2 separate regions of the Homo sapiens genome follow, and region 2 is linked to region 1. Evidence: promoter capture Hi-C in human tissues and cell types (Jung and others, 2019). All regions are on one chromosome and are shown on one strand. The core of a region is centred on a gene start or on the middle of the fragment in contact, and the rest is flanking DNA. Distances in the headings are between cores, read along the strand shown.

Region 1 (7,030 bases), core at 2,002-4,501:
AACATTGCCACGGGGAATAGGGGATTGAGAACCACTGGTCTAGAGCAGCAGGAGGAGCTTGTTGCAGCTTGCAGATCGCCTGGGGAGCTTGTTACAAAGGCAGGTTAGTAGATCTCACCCGAAGACAGTCAGATTCAGGGGCTCAGGAGTCTGCATTTCAATGGTCCTCCAGTTGGTTCTGATTCAGGCCCTCCCAGAGCCTCTGCTTGAAGAACACTGGTCAAGTGTTTGTAGACAGGAGACAGACTGATGATAATCACATCAGGCCAGTTCATTACAATCATGATATATGGAGGAAACAAGATAGGTAAGCAGGTGCTAGGGGTGACACTGATGTGACAGCCACATCCAGTTCAAGATCAGGACTAACCAATGATTAAGCCAAGTGCTGCAGTGTAGGTAGGGTCAGGTGTGGGAGAGACGGGAGGAAATTGTGACACACTTGCATCTCTGCACCTTTGCTCCTGCCCACTTTTTGGATGTGCATGCCCCCTGCCCCCACCCTCAAATCTTACCCTTCCTTCAAGGCCCACTCAAGTTCAACTTCCTCTGGGCACAGTCTTGCCTAACTTCTCCAGCCTATCAGTGCTTCTCTTCTCAGACAGTTTAACATTCACTTTCTGTTTCATTTGTGGCTATTTTGTTGCCCCAAATAGACTTCGAGTCCTCTGAGTACCAAGACCACATCATCTCCTTCTTTACAGACCCTTATCTACAGGCACGCTTCCAGGATCAGCCCTATACAAGTTTTGCCTGGTTGATTGGGTTGAGTCTCTAGAGTGAGGCCTGCAAGATAGCATCTATGCGATTCAGGGGGTCAGGGTCTCTGTGAGGGAGGAAGGGAAGCACCTTGTGTGCCTGCTGAACTCCTGGCAGCTAGCCCACCCACCCAAGACCAGGGAGGACTTGCCAGAGCAAGCAGGTAGTTTGGTTGGCGTTTGCCATGGGCGGTTGTATTTTCCCCCTGTTGACAAGGCAGAAGGAATCCCAGCAGCCCCAGCAACTTTGGGGAGGTGCCGGGAGGGGGCAGGAACCCAGAGCTGCCCTGCTGAAGAGCAAGTGCCAAGACAGCAGCAGGCAATCGGCCTGCAGGGCCGCAGCAAGCTGTGGGGGACCCAGCTGTCCTTGCATAGGATCATCTCAGGGGCAGCAGTAGCCAAAACAAGAGGCAGGCCCAATCAGATCCAAGAAGCCAGGAGACTCCGAAGATGGCCTTTAAAGCCACCAGTGTCAGACAGCACTCAGGAGCTGCCACCAACCAGGGAACGCTCCCTGGGAAGGTCCGGAGCAGCAACTGGCTGTAAACAAATGTTCAGAACAAGGTGCCTCATTACTCCCCAGCTCCGGGGGAGTTACAAGGAGGGGAAACAGCCTAAGTGCTCGGCTTTTCCACTGGACAGCGACACCTAGCAGCGATCCTCACCCTCCCACCTTCGTGGGCAGCCCAGATTGGGAGCACCCATACCTGATGTATCCACCTCACCCAAAGGATGAGAAGAGGGCTGTTTCGTTATGGGGAAGTTTAGAGAAGAAGGTGGGATGCTTACTTAGCTAGAGAGACATTTATTTTCCTATCAACCTAGGGGAGGGGCGGTGAGAGTAGGGAGACACTAGCAGCAAACTAAAAAACAGCCCAGCAGCTAGGAGAGAGGGCTCTTGCCAAGAGAGGCTCTGATATGGGTGTATCCTAGAGCAAGAACCTCCCCTAATCTCTCAAACCAGGCGGAGGAACCCCAAGTGTTTCCTTAAGCCAGCAGAGCCGGCAGAAGGAAGTGGCTGGCATTTCAGTGTATCTTCTGCAAATAGAGAGGCTGAGGCTGTGCCCGAATTGAATTTCTGAGTGACACCTCCTACTGCTCTTTCTCTTGGAGTTTAACCGTGGATTGGGGTGGAGTAGGGGGAGAGCCCAACGAGGGGTTAACTTATGCTGCAGCTCTGACCTTTTGCGCTAAGGATGAGAAAAAAAAAGCCATCTGTTTCAGAAGGAATCAGGTTGTTGAGTTTCACAGATCCAGTGGCTGTGGGATTGTAAGACTTCACTATCACTATCCCTGTCGCATAGCCACAGCCCACACTACCACCCCCACCGAACCCGAAGCTCCTGGAGGGGAAAATGCTTTTTCTCCCAAGGGTCCTTACGAAAGTTCAGGACTCGCGAGGTTATAAACAAACAAACAAACAAACAAACAATCGATACGATTTTGAGCCCTCCGACCCCGGAGTCCAAACAAATGGCCATAGAACTGTGGGTCTGGAGGACACCGCTCCGATCCATGCGGTCTCTCCGGGTATTAAATGGATTTATCGTCAGCCTGGTTGCTTGGAATTCTATTCTGTCCTTCATTTTTCACAGCGGAACAAAGTTGTCTGGACCCTCCAGCCAGCGCTGGGCAGAAGCAAGCAAGGATGCTCTTGGAAACGCGGTGGCCCAAGCCTAAGCGGCCATGCTCGGGGCTAGGAGCGGACCCCACGGCCACTCACCCCGGGGCGCTGCGACCGAAGCTGCCGCGGCCACTGCCACCCGGGGGCTCGCCGGCCGGCTCCGCGCATCCCGCCCTCTCAATGGACTTTCTTACCTCTTAATGTAGTTCCTGCCATACAGGATCTGTTGCAGCAAGGTCACCAAGGCAAAGGCGCAGATGAAGATGAAGAGCAAAGTTCGGCTCCCCAACAAATCCCGGTTGGCCGAGGGGTCCGCGTAGCGCATCCTGGCTACCGGGCGCCGCGGGCGCGGGGTACGGGGCGGCCAGGCAATGACTCGCGGGGTTCCGGGGCCCCGGGGGGCGCGCGGCCGACTTGGCGCCTCACGGTGCGGTCAGGCAGGCGGGGGACTTCGAGGGGCAAAGTTTCTGGTTGGCGCGGCCGGAGCTGGGGGCATCCAAGCGTCGCAGGCGCTGGGGCGGCAAGCAGGACAGGGCCGGTGGCAGGGAGCTCTGCCGCGGCCAGGGGCCTTCCCCACCCCCGGGTACCTTTACCTCCAGGCGCCGGTGCCGGGTAGCCGCCGATTTCCCCGCGGAGGGGAGACGCCAGGTGCCACGAGCCGGAGGCGGCCCCTCCCGCCGAGGTGGCGGCCAATGGGGAGCAAGACCCGGGCTCCGTCCCCTGTGCGCCCCAGCGCGCCGCGCATCGACCCCTCCAGTCCGGCGCCGGATCGCGGTTGCCCAGCGCGCTGTGCCCTGCCGGGGGCGGGCCACGTTTGATCTCCGGGCCCGCAGCAAGGGATCGCGAAGGTTGGCCTCCGGTTCTGCCGATAGGGACGGGGGGAGGGGGCGTACAAAACACCCGCGCAGTCTGGCTAATGATAGGCGGGCCGTGGGGAGGGGGAGGGGCGGAGCGCAAAACGCCGGGTTTGAATCTTGGAATTAAAAAGAGGGCAGGGGCTGGGCGCGGTGGCTCACTCCTGTAATCCCAGCACTTTGGGAGGCCGAGGCGGGCGGATCACAAGGTCAGGAGTTCAAGACCAGCCTGGCCAATATGGCGAAAACCCGTATCTACTAAAAATACAAAAAACAAAATTAGCCAGGCGTGGTGGCACGCGCCTGTAGTCCCAGCTACTTGGGAGACTGAGGCAGAAGAATCGCTTGAACCTGGGAGGCGGAGGTTGCAGTGAGCCGGGATCGCGCCACTGCACTCCAGCCTGGGCGACAGAGCGAGACTCCGTCTCAAAAAGAAAAAAAAAGAAAAAAAAGAGGGCAGGAAGAGGAAACAACAGTTGCGGAGCTGGACTTGATGGAAGGGAGCATTTGCGTGCGGCGCGCAGGGCACTGAGTCACCATCGTGGCCGCGTCCTCGCGCTCTCCTAGCGATTTCTCCGGAGAAAGCGGAGCAAGGTCAGCCGGGCAGCCCTTCAAGGACGGCGCGCCGCTCCTGCATGCTGATGGCCTGCGGGGCTGCCTGCCCGTGCCCCGGCGCCCAACTCCTACAAGGAAGAAATTCAGGGGCTCCCCGCCCCCGCCACAGTCCTCTTCCCCCTCCCCAGCTGCAACTCGGCAGCCGTTCGTCAAAGACCCTGTTGTCACCGAGACACTGGGACCTTGTCTCATCCTTGGAACCACTCGTAAATCTTAGGTCAGGCAGCCGGCAGCCTTCGGGGACCACAGTCCCCCCAAAGCTTTAGGAAGCCAGTTACTACATCCGGAAAGATTCGTGCTTCAGAACGCAAGCCAGGGAGAATAATCACAGAAACGCAATGCGAATGTCGTGCCTCTCAGAAATTCTTAGCCTGAAATACCGTCCCCACCCCCCAACCCGGCCAGGCGACAGTCCTGTCATCCTAACACCGCAGAGGCTCCAAGCGCTGGGAGTCGTGTGCCCGCGGCGCTCGCCACTGAGGCCGGTTGGAAGATTCTAGGGTGCCCCTTCCCAGGTTCCAGCAGGCACTCCGGGATGTTCTAGAGTCAGGCCAGGGATTCAACAGCGAACCTGACCGAAACTCAAACCTCAGCACAAGAACTTTGATGGGGGAAGTGCCCAGACTCCAATACTCTCGACCTTGGCATTTAGTAGTTTCTTCTTTGAACTGGAAAGATCAAATAATGCACAGTAAAATCTCATGATAAGGGTTCCACCAAGAATTCGGGATTTGTGTTAATTCATAAGGCAGAAGTGGCCCCTGTGCTATCCATGAAGAGTTTCTGTATTTCTCTGCAAGGTCACAGGTAGGCTTTTTTTTTTTTTTTTTTTTTTTTTTTTTTTTTTTTTTTGAGACGGAGTCTCGCTCTGTCGCCCAGGCCGGACTGCGGACTGCAGTGGCGCAATCTCGGCTCACTGCAAGCTCCGCTTCCCGGGTTCACGCCATTCTCCTGCCTCAGCCTCCCGAGTAGCTGGGACTACAGGCGCCCGCCACCGCGCCCGGCTAATTTTTTGTATTTTTAGTAGAGACGGGGTTTCACCTTGTTAGCCAGGATGGTCTCGATCTCCTGACCTCATGATCCACCCGCCTCGGCCTCCCAAAGTGCTGGGATTACAGGCGTGAGCCACCGCGCCCGGCCACAGGTAGGCTTTTTAACCAATTAAAGAAAAACTCCAACATTTAGAGGGCCCATTATTATAATAATTCCTGTATTTGTTTGCTGTCTGGCACATAAAAACGTGCTTCACTTGCATATATTAATGAATTTTCACCTCCTAGCCCCTGGCTAACCCATTTTACAGCTGAAAGGACTAAAGCAACAGATGCCCAAAGTAACTCACCTAGCAACAAGTCTTGGGATTCTGAGATGAGGTTCTTTCTCCCACACACACAGGCAGGCTGGCTTCTTGGGAGTGGGACTTGTTCATTTGTCCCCACCACCACCATTGATTTTGACTGATTGCTCCACTCTTGCTGTCTTCAAACTTTTGAACAAGGGGGTTTGCATTTCTCTTTGCACTGGGCCAAATTATGAGGTAGGTCCTACACACAGGCTCCAAGATGACAGTACTAATTTTTCACTAATTTTTCTCTACTTGGTGCTCAAGTGTAGAGTTTGAGGGGTACTATCATCTTCACTCCAGGCAAGGCACTGTTGTTTCTTTTGTATTCCTGCTTATTCTCCACCCCATCAGGTGCTCACTCTGATACCTGTCTTTGAGTGCTGTTTTCTTGGAAAAACAAATCTATTTTCAAGAAATGAATCAAAATTATCCTAAGAACTTTTTAATTGCAATATAATGCATTTACAGAAAAGTACACAAATCATAAATGTTCAGGTCGCTGTGTTTTCACAAGCTGAACACACCCATGTAACCAGTACACAGATCAATTATCGGCCCCCAGGAGTCCCCTCATGTTCCTATCTGGTTACTATGTACTCAAGAGTAACCACTGTTCTGAATCCTAACCCCAAAGATCAGTGCTTCCTGTTTTGTGTTTTATATAAATGCAATTATACATTATATATTATTTTGTGTCTGCCTTCTTTTGCTTAACGTTGCTATGAGATTTATCCATGCTGTTGCATGTGGTGGGCAGAATTACAAGAAGACCCCCAAGATTCCTCACCCCTTCTTGTATGCACATTCCCATAGGTATTGATCTAGGCGCTGCTGTGAAGGGAATTTGCAGATGTAATTGGCCTAAATCAGTTGGCTTTAATATCAGGAAATTGTCCTCAGTGGGCATGGCCATATGGAGCCCTTACAAGGGACTGGGCTCTTCCTGGTGAAAAAGATTTGAATCACGAGAGTGGCTGATATGAGGGAAATTCTTTGCTGTTGCCTTCGAAGACAGAAGAGGTCCACAAGGCAAAGGATGCAGACAGCCTGTAGGAGCTGAGACTGGCTCCTGGCTGACAGCCAGCAAGGAAATGAGGACCTCAGTCCTCCAATCATGAAGCAGACTCCGACTTCTGCTAACAACCTGAATACACTTCAAAGAGGATTCTGAGCTCCAGCCGCCTACACATTGATTTCAGCTGTTGGGACCCTCAGCCGAGAACCCAGCTATGCCGTGCCCAGATGTAAGACCTACACATCTGTGAGCTTGTAAGTGTGTGTTGCTTTAAGCCACTAAGTTTGTGGTAATATGTTTCACTGCAATATGAAACTAATACTTCTGTGTGCAGTTATAGTTTGTTCAATCTTATTGCTATATAGTATGCCATCAAACGACTGTGGCACAACTTATCCATTCTACAGCTGATGGACATCTGGGTAGTTGCTGCCATCAGCCTTCCAGTGCATGGTTTTTTGGGTGAAAACATGCATGCATATCTGCTGGGTATCTATTTCTAGAAGTAAAATTGCTAGGTCAGAGAGTATACATATGTTCAGCTTTAGCAATTACTGCCAAAGTTTTTCCAAAGGGAAAATTATTTTTAATAGGTATTTTATCCAGATTTGCCACGACCTAATAAGGAATTCGTCCCCACAATAAAACTAACTGGCTAACCTAATAGCAAAAAGCCCACCCAATCAAGAGCCAAGATAGTTGAGGGACAACAACAGCTCCAAAGGCACCCACTCTCCCTTGAGGAGGTACTCAACAGTTAGGTCTCCTGCATGAATTGGCAGTGAATGAGATTGATGCTGGCATTAGGAATAGCTAGAA
Region 2 (6,490 bases), core at 1,795-4,294, 470 kb before region 1:
GCACATATAGAAGGCACTGGTGGTATGGGCGTTGTAATCATAAATTGAGCTAAAGGCCCAGCACTAAACCAGAATGTTTTGGGGAGCTTAAGAGTCGCAAGAGATGGCACCAGCCAGATGAGAGGACAAAGCCACAAAAGGCTCTGGACCTAAAGGCACTGGGAAGCCATGGAAAGTGGCATGCATGGGGGAGCCACATGGAGATATGTGTGGATGTGCCAGAGAGCAACAAGGTGGAGGAGAGCAATCAGGGAGGGGCTCGTCCCCAAGAGACGGGGGAGATGTGACAGTGCCTGCCTGCCAGAGAGATGACTGAAGAGCTGAGATGGTGAAATAGGCAGGACTTGGAGACAGATTAGATTAGGTAGGAGTGGGAGAGGAGATGAAGAAATGTCCCTATTTCTGGGCTGGACGAATGAGGTGGTTGTGTCCTGATTTGGGGCACCCTTGCACACCCAGTTCCAGCACCAGGCTCTCTCTGTTCTGTAGACCGAGGCTGGGCCATAGGCATAGTGAGAGGAGCCTGCTGACTCACACTTCCCCCCACCCGACTTCCCAGGAACAATTTGAGTGTTTTGGAGTCATTCGTCATCCCTCGGTTGAAGACAGTGAAGGCCCATCCAGGCAGACTTACTTCTTGTTACTTGAATGTGTCGTGCATGTTCCCACCTCCAGGACTTTGCCCACACCTCCGCCTTTCCTCCCTGTCTACCAGAACCCAGCTGACCATCATCCCCTCCTCCACAACACAACCCTCCTTTAAGGCTCACCGCCTTGAGCCCTCCTGACCTCAGCGATTGTCCTGGAAGTGGGCAGCAGTCATGGATTGCTAGTCAATAGGATGTCAGTCCCTGCACCTGTGGCAACTGAAATATTAAGCTCCTGGAAGCTGAAAAGTGCCTCCCAGGTCTCTGCCCCTCCCAAGATGCCTGGCCTAGTGTTTTGTCAGACAGATGTAGGATGAGGGCCCTGATTGGACTGGGAGGAAAACACAATTCAATTACCAGCCAGGAAGGACTTGTTGAGAATTAGATTATCAGCCCCTGGGGGCTCGGTGGGAGAGAACAAAGGGTGGAAACTTCTCACAGGATTGCCCTCCCTGGGTCTCAGGGCATTGGGTATATCAGTTTCTGTAATGTGGTGCCTCTCCCATCCAGCAAGAGAGGTGGAGACAGCTGGGCTGAGCCCTCTTTGGCCTCTGCCAAATCCCCTCCAGTCAGCTTCTCCCGGTGCCTGGAGGTAGAGGTGAAAGATGACACCAGCACCCACAAGAGGCAGGACCACGGCCAGTGCTCTAGAAAAACCACTTGGCCCCTAAGGACTCCCTTACTGTGTGCCTATGGCCATGTTAGGTGCTGCACAGGACGTGCCAGAAATATTCAGATGGAAGCCTCAGAAATCATAGAAAGCCCCAGAAACAATGCCAGGGTAGAGGAAGTAAGAACTTGGACTTTGGACCCAGATAAACCCAGGTTTGGACCCTGAAATTGTTCACTGTCTAAGGCTCAGTGCAGGAGCCTGAACCTCTCTGAATCAGTTTCTTCATCTGCTAAATGGTCATAATAGCAGCTGTTATTCAAGTGATTAAAACTTTACACACACACATATATATTCAAAAGTATGATACAGTGCTAAGTGATACACGTGATGAAGCATTGTGAAGTCCTTGAGCGTGGTGTCTGGCATAGAGCAAGCTCCCAGTATGTGGCAGCTATTACTACTGCTGTTGTTTCATTCTGGTTCTGAATAATTACCACAATTGCAGGAAGGGAGAGTCCACCGAGTGGTCCTGAATGGCCGGAGAAGGAGACAGGACTTTTAGGATGAGTTCAGAAAGAGAGGAAGGACCAACCAGCCAGAGGGAGCAAAATGTCCCGATTTCCAAAAAGTGAAGAACATGATTCCTGGGATGTAAGCTTAACGACACTCAGTAGCATTCTAGAATTATTAAACAGGTGGTTTGGGAGCACTTTGCGAAGAACTGTGCCCATCCTGGAATTAACTCATTAAAATCATGTCAAATCAAACTCCCAGGGACTTGCGTTATCAAATAATTTTGTTTTCTTTTTCTTTCTTTTCTTCCTTTTTTTTTTTTTTCTTTTTTTGAGATAGGATCTTGCTCTGTCACACAGGCTGGAGTGCAGTGGCACAATCATGGCTCACTGCAGCCTTGCCTTCTTGAGCTCAAGCAATCCTCCAGTGTCAGCCTCCCAAGTAGCTGGAACCATAGGTGCACACCACTATGCCCGGCTAATTTTTTTCTTGTGTGTGTGTGTGCGTGTGTGTGTATTTTGTGTAGAGACAGGGTTTTGCTGTGTTGCCCAGGCTGGTCTCAAACTCCTGGGCTCAGGTGACCCACTTGTCCTCTCAATGTGTTGGGATTACAGGCATGAGCCACCGTGCTCAGCCAATAATTTTTTTTCATTCACGTCACATATTTATTGTCAGCATCATAGGAAATGCAAAGGGTATCATCACAAGGCACTGAACGAAGTCTCCCATGCTCTCTGTGTGGTCATGAGAAAGTGATGTGTGAACAGGGGGATGTCCCGTTAGGCGAAGTCCATGACAGTGGAAGCCAAGGGGCTCTAATCCAGTCACTGGAGGGTCAGAGGAGCACCCTGACCCTCTCTCTGATGGGGAGGGATGGCACATTAGAGAATGTCAGTGGCTCTGGAGGCGCCAGCCATTTAAGAGTGAAAAGCAATAGCAGGACAACAGAGAAGTAACATCATACATGAAATTATTCTTTGTAATAATGGCAGTAATATACATTCATGGTAAGAAATTGGGAAAATACAGAAGATTGTAAAGAAGTAACTAAAAGACACCTACAATTCTAACTGAATGGCATGATTTAATAACACGGCTGACAAGAATTACCGGCAGAGTGGAATTTAGGTAATATAGAAGATGGCAAGGGGTTCAGAATTGTTGAACCTAGAAAAGGGGTCATGCTCTCAGTTTTTGAGGAGTCAACAGGCTGTCAGGAAGAATCTGTAGTCTATCGGGTACCATTCAAGGGGGCATGAGTAGAACACAGAGGCTCAGAGAGGCCAATTTCAGCTCATGGACAATGGGAAGAGCGTTCCAGGAAGAAATTCTCCCTCAGGGGTCAGGCTGCCTTGGGAGGGAGGGGAGTGCCCATTCCTGGGAGTATTCAGTGGAAGCTAGTTCTTGTGTCACTTTCTTCTCTGAATGTTACTGAAGATTCCCTGCCCTTCTCTGGCTCCTTTCAATGCTAAGATTGTATATCTATAGGTGAAGACATGGAGGCAGAAATAAATGTGTTTAGTTATCGCTAAGGGAAATAAACATGATGCAAAACAGTGTGCTCTCAATTTTGTTGGAAGAATATAGTTAAATTCATTGAAAAGAGATGGCAAAGAAGTGAATATTAATGCTTGGACTGTGGGAGATGTTTTCACCTTTGGATTGTTTTGATTTTTCCAACTTTTCTACAGTTGACTTATTTTAAAACCCAGTAATGTATCTGCTACATGTGTGAAGTACTTTCTCTACTGAAACAATAGATTAGGGCAGGGGCAGGAGGGAGTTTTTTTGTAGGTATGTACATAGGGTGGGATGGATTGCAGAGGGCCTTGAAAGTCAGGCAGGACTGTTTAGATTTGAAGGTCACTATAGTGGCAATGAAAATGACTTTATTTGCTAAACCAAACTCAGGACTGATAATCTAACAAACAATAGCATGTTAATGGGGATAAGAGGACAGAATACAGTATTTGAAATTGCAAAACTCTCTGAAAAATCATGTCTTAGCTTGGGTTGCCATAACAGAATACCATAGATTGGGTAGCTTAAATAAAAGAAATTAATTTTCTTACAGTTCTGGAGGCTGGAAAGTCAAGATCAAAGTCCATCAGAGTTCAGGTTCTGGTGAGAGCTCTCCTCCTGGGCTGCAGACGACTACCTTTCCATTTTGTCCCGACTGGTAGAGAGAGGGAACGCCATACTCTCTTCCTTTTCTTATAAGGACACCAATTTCATCATAGGGTCCACACCCTCATGACCCCATCTAAACCTAATTGCCTCTGAAAGTCCCCATCTCTAAATACTATGACCTTGGGGCTTAGGGCTTCAACATATGAATTTCAGGAGGACACACACATTCAGTCCATAACGATCAGTATTACAATTGGGAGCCTCATGGGATTCTTAAGATAGTGACATTCATTTGCTTATTCATTCATTTAGCTTAGTAACATTTATGAAGCCCTAGCTATGTGCTAGACGCTGATGTGCATATGATGTAATTAGGTCTTGTGGGAGCTGAGTATGGGACACCCTGGAAGATGAAAGTTAAATTCATCAGGTCAGTTAGCAGGTCCCTGAAAATCTGGGTGAGGGATCTAAGTCTCAGGAACAGGAGTGGTGAGGATAGGAATTCTGGTGATATTTAAAGAAAGCCTTTGCTTGCTTCGCAGTTGCGCTAAGGGTTCTTTTCATTACCCTGAACAGGGTAGGGTAAACAGTAGGCACTCAACATACATTAGGTAAGTAATGGGAATGTTTCTGTGGGTAGAAGGGCTTGAACTGAACCTCAAATGAAGAATAATTATTAATCAACATTTTGTTGCAATAAACATACCCTGAATTCTTACCGTATGCCAGCTATATTGCTTAATGCTAAAGCTACAAGGAAGAGACGTAGCCATCACCCCAGAGGCATCCACAAAACGACAGTCTGAGAGGAGAGACACAAATGTAAGCAATGAAAGCACTTAGAACAGACTAATGTAATGTGAACTGTGAGCCCAGATAGAGGTACAATTATTCTAGTCTGTAGGGGTCAAGGAAGACACCAGAGAGGAGGTGACATCTGAATTGGGCACACGGAGAATTCTCTGGGATGGTCCATGGGTGGGATGGATGGTGGAAATCATTCCCAGCAGATGGAAAAACAAGGTCTACGATATGGTGGCGAAACGATGGCATGGTCCTTCTCAGTCTACTTTGTGTTTGCATTTATTTCCAGCATTCCTTAAAAGCTGGTTGGGGGCTGGGTGCCTGTAATCCCAGCTCCTTGGGAGGCTGAGGCAGGAGGACTGCTTGAGCCCAGGAGTTTGAGACCACTCTGAGCAACATACGGAGATCTCATCTTTATAAAAAATAAAAAATTAGCCGGGGCATGGTGGCACATACTTGTGGTCCCAGCTACTCAGGAGGCTGAGGTGCGAGGATGGCTTGATCCTGGGATGTTAAGGCTGCAGTGAGCCGTGATCATGCCACTGCACTCCAGCCTGGGCGACAGAGTGAGACTCCGTCTCAAAAAAAAAAAAAAAAAAAAAAGAAACAAAAAACAAAAATGCTGGTTGCACATCTGTAGGGCTGTCAGCCCAACTAATCTTTATCCCTTCTGAAAACTGCTCCATCCCAGTCTACATAATTACAGCAAGAAGAGTTATGAGGACATACCTGTCTGTCAGGCCAGAGTTGACTGGTCCAGGGATGGAATCCTGACCAAACTGGGATGTTCAGAGTCCCTCCAGGGAATTTGGAACTGGGACACTAGATCACTGGCTGGCATCAGTCTCAGTGATCTCTTGCAGTCACTGTAAATTTGAGAGCTGCGGGTCTAATATCCTATCTTGTGAATTGGGCATCAAAGAGGGCCAGGTCCCGGTGAGGAAGAAATGAGATAGGTATGCCAAGAAGGGCCAAGATGAGACATACTGGGAGGGGACTGTCTGCATGTCCTCCAGTGGTCTAGCCCCTGGCTACAGCCCACTTCTGAAGTCCTGTTGTGGGGTCCGTGGGAGATGGACTGAGCAAAAGTGAGGTGAAGGGTAACATGCATTCTCACATCCTGGAGGGTCTGGCAGTAAAGACATCACTGAAACCGTGGCTCTTTTCAGACTCAGGCTATGTACCCACCCAGTGTTAGGGAATTTAACAGTGAAAGAGCACTATGTTTTACATCAGTGTATTTTAGAGAAATACACTATATGAATGTATTTCTAATATGTGTAGGTGTTAAAAGGTGGAGATAAAAACTTTAAGCCAGGGCAGAAAGTAGATAGAGAATAATAAATATGCCATGATGTAATGAATCCTTTCTGCCAAAAGCCACTCATCTGAGATGGCTGAAGGATCAGAAATCCATTTGCCTTGATCAATTACAGGAGCAAAATTCTGACACAGCCTATTTCTCTCTCTCTTTTTTTTTTTAAGGGACGGGGTCTTGCTCTGTTGCCCTGGGTGGAGTGCAGTGGTATGATCATAGCTCAGTGCCGCCTTGTACTCCTGGGCCCAGGCGATCTTCTTGCCTCAACCTCCCCAGTAATATGATGACAGATGCTTACTACAGTGCCTGGCTATTTTTTTTTTTTTAATTCTTAATTCAGACGGGGATCTCACTATATTGCCCATGCTGGTCTCAAACTCTTGGCCTCAAGCAGTTCTCCTGCCTCAGCCTCCCAAAGTGCTGGGATGAGCCACTATGCCTGGCATCATTTCTAAATCTGATTTT

What was found. Contacts are between HindIII fragments. The study calls those that stand out against the background at their distance.
Region 2: a contact is called between a fragment that was not itself captured here and the fragment with the promoter of ST8SIA5 in region 1, in 1 of the 25 tissues and cell types used here (dorsolateral prefrontal cortex).

Annotation. Positions count from the first base shown.
Region 1 is chr18:46,753,802-46,760,831 of GRCh38, forward strand. ST8SIA5 (ST8 alpha-N-acetyl-neuraminide alpha-2,8-sialyltransferase 5) reads right to left here and starts at 3,252. Exons shown (of 7, transcript NM_013305.6): 1 at 2,577-3,252. The coding sequence starts at 2,707. It overlaps ST8SIA5-DT (ST8SIA5 divergent transcript), which reads left to right and starts at 3,642. Exons shown (of 3, transcript XR_001753434.3): 1 at 3,642-4,658; 2 at 4,996-6,465. RefSeq lists a silencer at 2,835-3,224. The HindIII fragment of the contact is 8,707 bases long and covers 1-6,790 here.
Region 2 is chr18:46,282,907-46,289,396 of GRCh38, forward strand. No RefSeq gene overlaps it. Among named protein-coding and RNA genes, the nearest start is that of ARK2C, 48 kb to the right of the region's middle. The HindIII fragment of the contact is 4,538 bases long and covers 776-5,313 here.